2 separate regions of the Homo sapiens genome follow, and region 1 is linked to region 2. Evidence: promoter capture Hi-C in 16 types of primary human blood cells and fetal thymus (Javierre and others, 2016). All regions are on one chromosome and are shown on one strand. Each heading gives the region's core, a stretch centred on a gene start or on the middle of the fragment in contact. The rest is flanking DNA. Distances are from core to core; before and after follow the strand shown.

What was found. The method cuts DNA at HindIII sites, captures the fragments that hold promoters and counts their contacts. A CHiCAGO score of 5 or more calls a contact.
Region 1: a contact is called between the fragment with the promoter of TYSND1 here and a fragment that was not itself captured in region 2, in 1 of 17 cell types (M0 macrophages). The highest score is 5.2, in M0 macrophages.

What each region holds. Positions count from the first base shown.
Region 1 is chr10:70,143,211-70,148,618 of GRCh38, reverse strand. TYSND1 (trypsin like peroxisomal matrix peptidase 1) reads left to right here and starts at 1,919. Exons shown (of 4, transcript NM_173555.4): 1 at 1,919-3,198; 2 at 4,647-4,777. The coding sequence starts at 2,033. SAR1A (secretion associated Ras related GTPase 1A) reads left to right here. Exons shown (of 7, transcript NM_020150.5): 7 at 1-1,330. RefSeq lists silencers at 2,148-2,457, 2,788-3,017 and an enhancer at 2,608-2,657. The HindIII fragment of the contact is 18,251 bases long and covers 1-3,804 here.
Region 2 is chr10:69,935,700-69,940,981 of GRCh38, reverse strand. COL13A1 (collagen type XIII alpha 1 chain) reads right to left here. Exons shown (of 41, transcript NM_001368882.1): 33 at 4,200-4,226; 34 at 3,267-3,347. Among named protein-coding and RNA genes, the nearest start is that of LINC02636, 71 kb to the left of the region's middle. The HindIII fragment of the contact is 153 bases long and covers 3,853-4,005 here.

The sequences.
Region 1 (5,408 bases), core at 670-3,169, 210 kb before region 2:
TAAGGTCTCATCATGTTGCCCAGGCTGGTCTCAAACTCCTGGGCTCAGGAAATTCTCCTACCTCAGCCTCCCAACGTGCTGGGATTCCAAGTGTGAGCCCCTGTGCTCCACCAAGAGAAAAACTCTTTGATTGCTAGGAAGTTGGGATAAAGAAATTGTGCTGTGATCAAGCCACCTTCTGTGTCATAGAACCAAAAGAAGACCGCCTGCTATGGCAAGATGGCCTAATTTTATTCCTGCCTCATACTATCATGGATAATCGTTTTCCTTTCTCTAGCAGGTTTGTGTCACTGGGAGTACTGGGAGCATTATCCTGTGTTGTGCTGGGGTTATACCAAGCAGTGTTAACTTTATTTAAAGAATTCAGGCAGAAAGATTAGAGAATTTAAGTAGCAATTGTATATGGTAAGCAATACAGTAACCTTAATAAAAATTAATGATGGCCGGGTACGGTGGCTCACGCCTGTAATCCCAGCACTTTGGGAGGCCGAGGCGGGCGGATCACAAGGTCAGGAGATCGAGACCATCCTGGCTAACACGGTGAAACCCCGTCTCTACTAAAAATACAAAAAATTAGCTGGGCGTGGTGGCAGGCGCCTGTAGTCCCAGCGACTGGGGAGGCTGAGGCAGGAGAATAGCGTGAACCCAGGAGGCGGAGTTTGCAGTGAGCGGAGATCGCACCATTGCACTCCAGCCTGGGCGACAGAGCGAGACTCCGTCTCAAAAAAATAAATAAATAAATAAAAAATAATGTGTATTTTATCAATTCAGTGATAAAGCAGACCTTTGTAAACTGTCTAGCTTGTGGTGACTGATTGAGGGTATCATGAAGCTCCGCGCCCCCCCACTCCCCGACATACTCGTTCATCCTCCTCTGTCCTAAAGCGTACTTCTTTGGAAAAGTAGAGCAGTTTATGTTAGTGTACACTAGAGATGGTAAACTATGCCTTGTGGGTCAAATCGGGCCTGCTGCCTGTGTTTGTATGGCCTGTGAGCAAAGAAAGGTTTTTACATATTTAAATGGTTGGAAAAAATATTTAAAGAATGCTATTTTTGGACACAAAAAATTGTATGAAATTAAAATTTCAATGTCTGTATCTTTTTATTGGGACACAGCCACCGCCATTCCTTTAGCTTTTGTATGCAACAGCTGCAGAGTTGACTATTTGAGACAAGTTGTATGGTCCCCCCAAACTGGAACTGTTTCCATTCTGGCCTTCTACAGAAAGTATTTGGACCCTGGCCTAGATAAATCCTGGCTGGTGGTTATGTTATGTGAAATGTGCACACTGTAAAATATAGGCCTGTATGATTAAAATTTTTGATTTCAGCTACTGTTCATAGTCGATTTAAAGGGCAATTTAATTTACAGCAAATCCAGTTTCTCGGAGATTTGTGTTGGGGCTTTGGCAGCAAAAAAAAATCCTAGGAGTAATCTTGAGAGTTCCATGCCCCCTAGTGGATTGCTATAGGGTTTACTTTTAAATTTTCAAAACACTGAATTGGCCAAGGATTTCCTTGGTCCATATTATCCCAAGGGTCAGAGGCTGAAGGTCGCCTAGACCTGGGCAGATGCTCACAGGTACTGTCGTGGCCTGGGCAAATCTAGGCACGTCAGCGCTCATTTCTATTCCCTTTCCCACATTCCAGCAAACGAGACTAGGCTTGAAGGGACCCACCCTCCTCTCCTCTGATTCCTCGTGACGCCGCACTCCTCTTACTCTCCCCGGGGCTCATCCGGGGGAATGGGGCAGATTATGTCCCACCGGTTGGACAAACTAACGAGGGCGGGGAAAGGAAAAAAAAAATCAGAATAGGAAGCCAATCAGAGCTCGGTACAAGCCCAGCCAATCGGGTCGGGTCAATTGGGGCTTAGCCAATCGGGCTCGATGAGGAAGACGTGAGTCAGAGCTTGCGCCTCTCGCTTCCAGCTGTGGGTGGCGCTAGGCAGCTTCAGCCGGACCGGGTAGGGGTCCTCGCTCGCTAGCTTGCTGTTTCTCGGAGAAGCTCCCGAGTGTCCGGCCTAGAGGCCATGAGAAGGCAGTGGGGGTCTGCCATGAGGGCGGCCGAGCAGGCGGGCTGCATGGTGAGCGCCTCCCGGGCCGGACAGCCCGAGGCGGGCCCGTGGAGCTGCAGCGGGGTAATCCTGAGCCGTAGCCCGGGCCTGGTGCTTTGCCACGGGGGCATCTTCGTCCCCTTCCTGCGAGCTGGCAGCGAAGTCCTGACCGCGGCCGGCGCCGTCTTCCTGCCTGGCGACAGTTGCAGGGACGACCTGCGCCTGCACGTGCAGTGGGCCCCAACGGCCGCGGGTCCCGGGGGCGGCGCGGAGCGGGGCCGCCCAGGGCTGTGCACGCCCCAGTGCGCGAGCCTCGAGCCCGGCCCACCTGCCCCGTCCCGCGGGCGTCCCCTGCAGCCCCGGCTTCCTGCTGAGCTGCTGCTGCTGCTGAGCTGCCCGGCCTTCTGGGCCCACTTCGCGCGCCTCTTCGGGGACGAGGCAGCGGAACAGTGGCGCTTCTCGAGCGCGGCGCGGGATGACGAAGTGTCGGAGGACGAGGAGGCGGATCAACTGAGAGCGCTGGGCTGGTTTGCGCTGCTGGGCGTGCGGCTAGGCCAGGAGGAGGTGGAGGAGGAGCGCGGGCCAGCCATGGCGGTGTCGCCTCTCGGGGCCGTGCCCAAGGGTGCGCCATTGCTGGTCTGCGGCTCCCCTTTCGGCGCCTTCTGCCCCGACATCTTTCTCAACACGCTGAGCTGCGGGGTGCTCAGCAACGTGGCCGGCCCACTGCTGCTTACCGACGCACGCTGCCTGCCCGGCACCGAGGGCGGCGGCGTGTTCACCGCGCGGCCCGCGGGGGCGCTGGTGGCGCTGGTGGTGGCGCCGCTCTGTTGGAAGGCCGGCGAATGGGTGGGCTTCACGCTGCTCTGCGCCGCCGCCCCCCTTTTCCGCGCCGCCCGCGACGCGCTTCACCGCCTGCCGCACAGCACCGCTGCCCTGGCCGCCCTTCTGCCGCCAGAGGTGGGCGTCCCGTGGGGTCTGCCCCTCCGAGACTCCGGGCCCCTGTGGGCAGCCGCGGCAGTGTTGGTGGAGTGCGGCACCGTATGGGGCTCCGGAGTGGCTGTGGCACCCCGCCTTGTAGTGACCTGTCGGCACGTGTCCCCTCGGGAAGCAGCCAGGGTCCTGGTGCGCTCCACCACCCCCAAGTAAGCCCGCAGGGCTGACGCCACTTCATCCCTTTCCAGGTCTCAGATCTGGGTCCAGCCCTAATACTCTTGAGTATTGTGCAGGCCTTTCTTGTGTCACGCGGATGCTTTGGGCGTGTAGTGGGTAGAGACCTGGAACCCTCCCCTCATCCTTTATACCCAGAACCCCTGTGGGGAGAATCTGGGGCAAGGTGTCAAGCTCGAAGCAGCTCTGGATTTGGGTACTGTGGGACACCCTGAATCCGGAACAGGGCATCTTTGAGCTCCCCTCAAAGGCTGAGTTTCTTCTGGGCAGCTTCACTGTCTGATAGCCCTGCACGCCATACCCCTCGGTTCTCTGGCCCTTTGAACAGAGATTCCCTAACCCTGCTGCTTCTCCTCTGAAAGTGATAAGGTCCCAGAGGCCCAGGATGGTGCTCTCCTGGGGTAAGGAGATGGGTATGTTAATTTTATCCATCTTTTAGTGCTTAGCCAGAGCTTCCCGTCTGAGTGAAACGTGAGTTTCTACGTAATCAGAAGGTAGGGGGGTGGCCCACGCAGCTGTACATGGTTCAGCCCAGCCTTGCAGCCCAGGCTTTTCCAAATCTCTTCCTGAATCCCCAAGCTTAGCCAGGTGTGGGTAACACTGCCCAGTTTTGCCATAGGTGTCCCCACTGTGGCCTATAGGACAGCCATGACTTTATAGGGAAGACTGATGATGAAGGTTTGCCTATGGTGTGTGGCCCCCACCAGATTCCTTCCACTCCCCCCACATGCCCCTTGCTCCTAAGGAGACTGCCAGGTCTGTTGGAAGCTACCCCTGCAGAGTGTGTAGTAGGACGCCCCTGTCTGATCCCGGGCAAGTCACTTAACCTGTCTAAGCTGCCTCCCCGGGAGTTGACGCTGAATGTCGTGGAACGGAGCCTGTCACGTCGTGTGCTACAGAAGTGTTAGCGTGTACGTAAATAGGGACCCAGAGGAGTGAAACCATGTCATATCTGACCCACCAACTGACGGGATTGTTGTGGGTATCAACGAGGCAGTGAAGGAAAGTGTTGTGTTTGCCTTGGCTCCTCCCACTTTGTTTGGTGTTGGGAATGTTACTGAGCGTCTCTGGGCCTCAGTTATACCACCTAAAATGGAGATAATGCCAGTGCCTAGTTTATAGGGTCGTGAAGACTAAATAAAGTGATGTCCACAAAACACTAACACCAAACCTGGCCCACAGTGCTCACTAAGTGTCAGGTTGATTATTCAGGTACAGGAAGCTTTAGAGAAGTAGCACAGTTTGTCAACCACCTTTGGAGATACCACAGAATGGTTACATGACTTGCCCAGAGTTGCCTGCTGGTCGATTCAGGGCTGATACCCAGATCTTCTGACTTTTACTGTCACTCTCAGCTCCTTGATTTCTCCCAAGTACTGAGGAGTCAGAAAGCTAGCCTGTCATTTGTTTCCCTTGCTCCCAGGAGTGTGGCCATCTGGGGCCGTGTGGTATTTGCCACTCAGGAGACATGTCCCTATGACATAGCAGTGGTGAGCCTGGAGGAGGACCTGGATGATGTCCCCATCCCTGTGCCCGCTGAGCACTTCCATGAAGGTAAAGGACGAAGGGCGCAGCCTGAAGGAGGGCCCCTCTGAGCTAGGGTGGGCCTCAGGAAGGAGAATCAGTGTTGGGCATTCTCATGAAGTCAGGGTAGCATTGGTCAAGGTCCTTGGAGGCCTGCCTCCCTTTTTGTGCTGGTGGGGCACATGGAGTGCCCTGGGAAGGATAATGCTGCACGCCCTTTCCCCGAGTGCCTGCAGCAATGTAGTGTGAGGATGCTGGGCCTTTGGGGTTCCTTAACACTTCAGGCTGGTCAGAGAGGCATGTGGCACTTTCAAGGCTCCAGGGGCACGATTTGGGTAAAAGGCTTTGTGATGCTGCCACATAAGTACTGATGTTGCACTCCATGGAGGCAGTGTGATACAGTGATGAAGGGTCCAGGGGCTCTGGATGGGCATCTTTCCTATGCCACCTATTAGTCCCATGTCCTTGGACAGGCTAGTTAACTATCCTCTGCCTCATTTTCCACGTCTTTGAAATGGGGCTAATGCATCCTATTTCTGGGTGTTGTGAGGGCTGGGTGTGACGTTGCCTGTAAAGCACTTACCCCCATACCCTGCACTTGGAAAAGGAAGGTCATGGCTGCATTATAGCCATCATCACCATTTCTTTTCACGAAGAGACT
Region 2 (5,282 bases), core at 2,680-5,179:
GAAGGGCACAGTTTGACCAAAAGAAGGGGAAGAGAGGATTGGGAGGGAGAAAAAGGGAACAATGGGGAGGGAAGAGGTGAGTAAAGCAGTGACTCTGGACAGACATAAATGCTGGTAATCAAACACAACTGGAGAAATAAGCTTGGGAGGACACGGAATGGTATTTACATGGAAACCAACGAAAACATGGAGACACTGAATGCAGTGGCTGGCTGCTGAGCAGGCTGGGTGGAGGTCGGCGCAGATGGCCACCTGCTCCTCCCGCCCCCCTTCTCCTCTCTCCCTTTATTCCCTCTCAGAAACCCCTCTCCCTTCAGTGTTATGGGGAAAGGGATACAGAAAGGAATGCTTAGAGAGATGTCTTGGAATCAGAGCTGTGCACCCTTCCCAGGACAGGTTTCACTGGGGAGGGGCCCCAGGTGAGGACGGCTCTCCCAGCCTCTTTGCATTCCTGTTTGGATCAGGCCATGCTGGGGTGCCCCTGAGGGTCTCAGCCCTGGGTGACAGCACCCAGTTGTGAAATCTGGGTAGGAGTTGTTCTGCTTATCCTTCACCCTGGGGGAATGAGTTGGCTCTTAGATGATATTACAAATGATGCCTGACATTTCGCTGGCACTTTACAGTCTGAGATGCTCAACCTAAACTCGATCCATTCATATGCTCCCAGACAAGGGCTCTTGTGTAGGCAAAGGCTTTGGAGGCAGCGGCCTGGGACAGAGGTCTAAGGCCATGTATTTCCCAGAGCAAATGGGCAGCAGGTGGGAAGCTACTGAGACCAACCTGCTATCAGCACCCTTACTTGCTCTTGTCCAGTGAAATACAAGGTTGGTGGGTCGGGGGTGGGGTGGCACTCCTGTTCCAACCCTGGGTTATGAAGCTGCCTCTGAAACCCACCCAGGAAAACCCAGGGACCCTTTTCTAATGATTCCAATGTGACAAGTCAGGGAGAAGGCAGCGGCAATACTCTGGCCTGGTAAGGACTGAGTGCTTGAAAACTGCTTCCAACTGAGCCTCAGCCTCAGAATTTCAAATGAAAAGGAAGTCCCAAGAAGGAGGCAACGAGCTGCTGCTTCATGGAAAAGGTGTTGGGTAGAAGGACTCTGCAGGGACTCTTCTCAGATTTAGGACCACACGATTCTGGGACCGACCTTGACTCACTGGGCTAGAGAGCTGTGGTTCTCAGCCCTGGCAGCACATTAGAATCTCTTGGGGGCAATGTTAAATAAAACAGATGCCTGGGTCCCACCCCATCCCAGCCCGATGCAATTCAAAATCTCCAAGAGTGAAGCCCGGGGTGATGGTGAGTTTGAAAAGCTCTCAGGGGATTCCAGTGTGCAGCCAGCATTGAGAATTGCTTCTGCAGGGCAAATGGGGGAACACTCCAGGATATGCCTGGAGAAGCAGGCTGCTACTACATAGAATAAAACATCCAGGTGAAACCTGGAAACAGAATGGTAGCTAAATATCCATGTACTTTAAAAAAATGCAGCATTAAAACTCAGTTGTCTTGAGAGGTCTGGAGCAGAAAGCACAAATTAGAGGCTTTCAGGCCATATGTGGGCCACTGACATATTTTTTATGGTCTGCAGTGTTGCAAATAATTTTGATCTAATATTAGAAAATGGAAAGATTTCACATAAAACACCAGATGTTTAACTTCCTTTGAAAAATAGGAAGATCCAGAAATACCAGCTCCGCCTTCCTCCAAGGCAACAGTCAGCTGAGCTGAGAAGGGACGGTTCCCCTTAAGAAGGGATACACGGTCTCTAGTGCACCACAGTCCCCTCCACTCCCTAGTGTCTCCCTCAGGTTTGTGTCAGTTGTCTCATATGAATGCTTGTTCTGTTGTTTACTTAAACTAAAAAAAAATACTTCTCTGTACCCATGCCTCTATCAAAAGTGAGAAAATTAATGATAGAGTAGGTACTTTGTCTTTCATCTGGCACTTTCCTTGTTTATATTAATATTACCTGTTTGGTCGCTGTGCCTTTTGCATTTCAACCCCTGACTGAATTCTCGAGTGTTCATCAAGGTCGTTGGGGCCATGAATGTGGATAAGAAGAGGTTTGTGGTTGAGTGGGGCAGGAAGGCTCTTTAATAGTAAGGAGCACTTAATCATTCCAGACACAGCTTAAGACATGGGAAAATGCCTGCTAAAGTCATCAGTTTTCTGTAGTCTGTCAAGCAGATTGGCTTCTTAAATATTCCTACCTCGAATGCATTCATGAGGGTATAATTATACCTCCTGCATTTGCTGTTTGGTTGCTGTGATTGTATTAACCAGGCCTTCAAGCTCTGCCAAGCGGGGGTAACTGGGCTTTCCATTGTTTCTCTGCTCTTTATGGCTACCTGGGGTGGGAACTGGCCTTGAGCCCAGGACAGAGGAAGCCTGAGTGGCTGGAAGGAGTCGCTTTGCAAGGCCATGGCCTCAGATCAGCCTCTGGCTTGGCCACCAACTTTGTATGTGACCTCCAGTGACCCACTTTCTTCTCTGGGACCATCAGTGAAATGATGGGATGGATCGCTAACATCCCTTCCAGCTCTTGGAAGAATGCCAACCTCAGTGGAGGGTTAGGGGGCATGGAGCCCGGGCTCCAGGGAGGGTGGTGGGATGCGCTCACCTGTACACAGGTGAGGCAGTGAAGAGGCCATCAGCCCTATCCAGCCCAGCCCCATATCATGACATGTGAACACCTTCTGAGCAGCTCCCCACCTCTGACCTGGGGCTTCTGGCTCTGGGCAGGCTGAGATCAGAGATCTCCACGAACCCAGGAGATGAACGGCCTTGGCCTGCTGGGACCACAAAGTCTGACTTTGTCTGTGCCTTTCTGCAATGACCAGTGCTTAAGAGGGGGGAGCAAGAGTTCTCTTGGGGTCCCTCTGGGAAAATGGACTGTAATGGAGACTATCTTCTTGTCCCACTACTTCCAAACCCTCCAAGCTTGGCCCCGTAAAGGCAGCAGGCTTTGATTGCTTCTGAACCAGGCTCAAGCAGGGCCTGAAGCTGCCCTCCCAGCTCAGTGCCCCTTGGGGTGGGGGAGCCTGTCTTCTTCAGCATTGCCTTTCCCCAGCACCAAGGTGGGGCCTGGGCCCAGAGGAGGAAGAGAATCAGAGCCTGTGGTCTTGCCCAGGTGGGAAAGACAAACCACATGGAACTCTGGATGCTCAGACTCTAGAACCTTAGCTTTCCGCTGGCTGTCCCCCAGTCCCAGCCCACACCCCTGGCCCATCAAACCCACCAGTCTTGCTGGGTCCAAGGTACTTACGGGTAGTCCCAGGGGACCACGGTCTCCTTTTTCTCCCTGGAAGCCTTTCTCTCCTTTTGCTCCATCTAGTCCTGCTTCCCCCTGGAGGAAAGGGAGAGGGGACGAGATCACACAAGGACATGTCCCAGACAATTCATTCTTGCATTCTGGGGTCCTGGAGGCTGGGGTGGCATTTGTAGAGGAAGGAGGGGTCAGGGTGGCAGGCTGAGGATACCAAGAATCCCTGAATTCTTAGCCTACTCTCGCCTCAGTTAGTAGCCCCTGTATCCTGTGGGAGCTTTGAGAGCCCCACAGAGAAAAGGACTAGGTGGCCTGGGGACAAACCCACAGGTCAGGCCTTGGCACAGGTGCCCAACTGCATGGCAGGAGAATGGGAACCTTACAGAGATTTGCTCAGATGCCTGAGATGCTACCTCCAGAGCCCTGAGGCTCACAGCCTAGTCGGGAGAACAAACTGCCCCGAAGTCTCTTGAATACCAGGGCATGAGGAAAGGGCCATTGTCACATCAACAGCCCCCAGCCCCCTCATCCATTTGAAATGGTTCAGGGGAGGCCGGGAGAGCCCAGTGCAGAGTCCCCCCAAGCTTGACCCAGGGAGGGGTCCCACCCTATGTTGCTGTCTCTCTCCCACCTCTACTCGGCATGAGTGAAGGGGCCAGGGCAGGTTTGATGGGAAAAGGATTTTAACCATTGGCTAAGAATCTAACCTGTCCCTTTGTGGGGTGACAGATGGGAAGCTTCTGAAGCCAAAGCACACCAGGTGTCAATGATGGATGCTAAAGGGAATCTAGGACTTCCTCCTGCCCTGACTGGACCCCCTTGGCTGGAGTGTCACCTAATGCCTTCTAGGAAAAAGGGTCAGCTGGTCTCAGGTGCACTTTCCCTCTTTTCTACTAGCACTGACACAGCGCCTGTCATGTGACTTCTCCTTACCTTTGGTCCAGGAACACCTTGGAGCCCCTGCATTTGGAATAAAGCAAGGTGCATTAGAACTGCATCTCTAGTTAACACAACTGCCTAGTCCACAAATGGATCACAGAAGAACAAGGGTTTTGGGTGCAGAGTATGGTTTGGGGTCCCTGCCCATGAGAGGTAGAAAGAAATGCTAAGTGGGGGTCATGCTTGGGGCTTCCTAGGGAATAGTCTGAGCCAGTCTTTTCCAGCCAGGGCTCACAGAAAATCTCTCTGTGGTCCTCATGGTTGACCCAGAGTCTCATGAAAGAAAGACACGGAGGTAACACAGCAAACATTAAATTAATACAGGCAAAGTGCTTGGAACAGTGTCTAGCATCCAATAAGTTTCAATAAACGCTGGCTCCTATCATTATTCCTACTGCTACTTCTACCATCCACAACAGAGGACACACAGTGCCTTGGGGACCATGAACCACACAGAGGCATGGGCCAGCATCTGTTGCTTCAGGGTGCTTGGGGGCCCTCTAGGGGTGATGCACAGGGGCCCCATGGTTACATTTCTGTAGCCAAGGAAAGCCAATCCAGTGGGGCTGGGGCTCGCCCTTCCTTCCTTCCTTTCCTTTCCTTCCTTCCTTCCTTCCTTCCTTCCTTCCTTCCTTCCTTCCTTCCTTCTTTCCTTCCTTCCTTCCTTCCTTCCTCCCTTCCCTCCTTCCCTCCCTCCCTCCCTCCCTTCCCTCACTCCCTCCCTCCCTCCCTCCTCCCTCTCTTTCTCTCTTTTTCTTTTTTTTTGAGACAGGGTCTCACTCTGGTTGCCCAGGTTGGAGTGCAGTGGTGCCATCTTGGCTCACTGCAGCCTCGATCTCTGGGGCCCAGGTGATTCTCCCACCTTAGCCTCTTGAGTAGCTGGGATTACAGATGTGTGCCACCACGCCCAGCTAATTTTTTGTATTTTTAGAAGAGACAGGGTTTCATTATGTTGCCCAGGCTGGTCTCAAACTTCCGGACTCAAGCGATCCACCTGCCTCAGCCTCCCAGAGTGCCAGATTGGTATCACGGGCGTGAGCCACTGTGCCAGACCGGTGAGTCACTTTCAAATGAGGA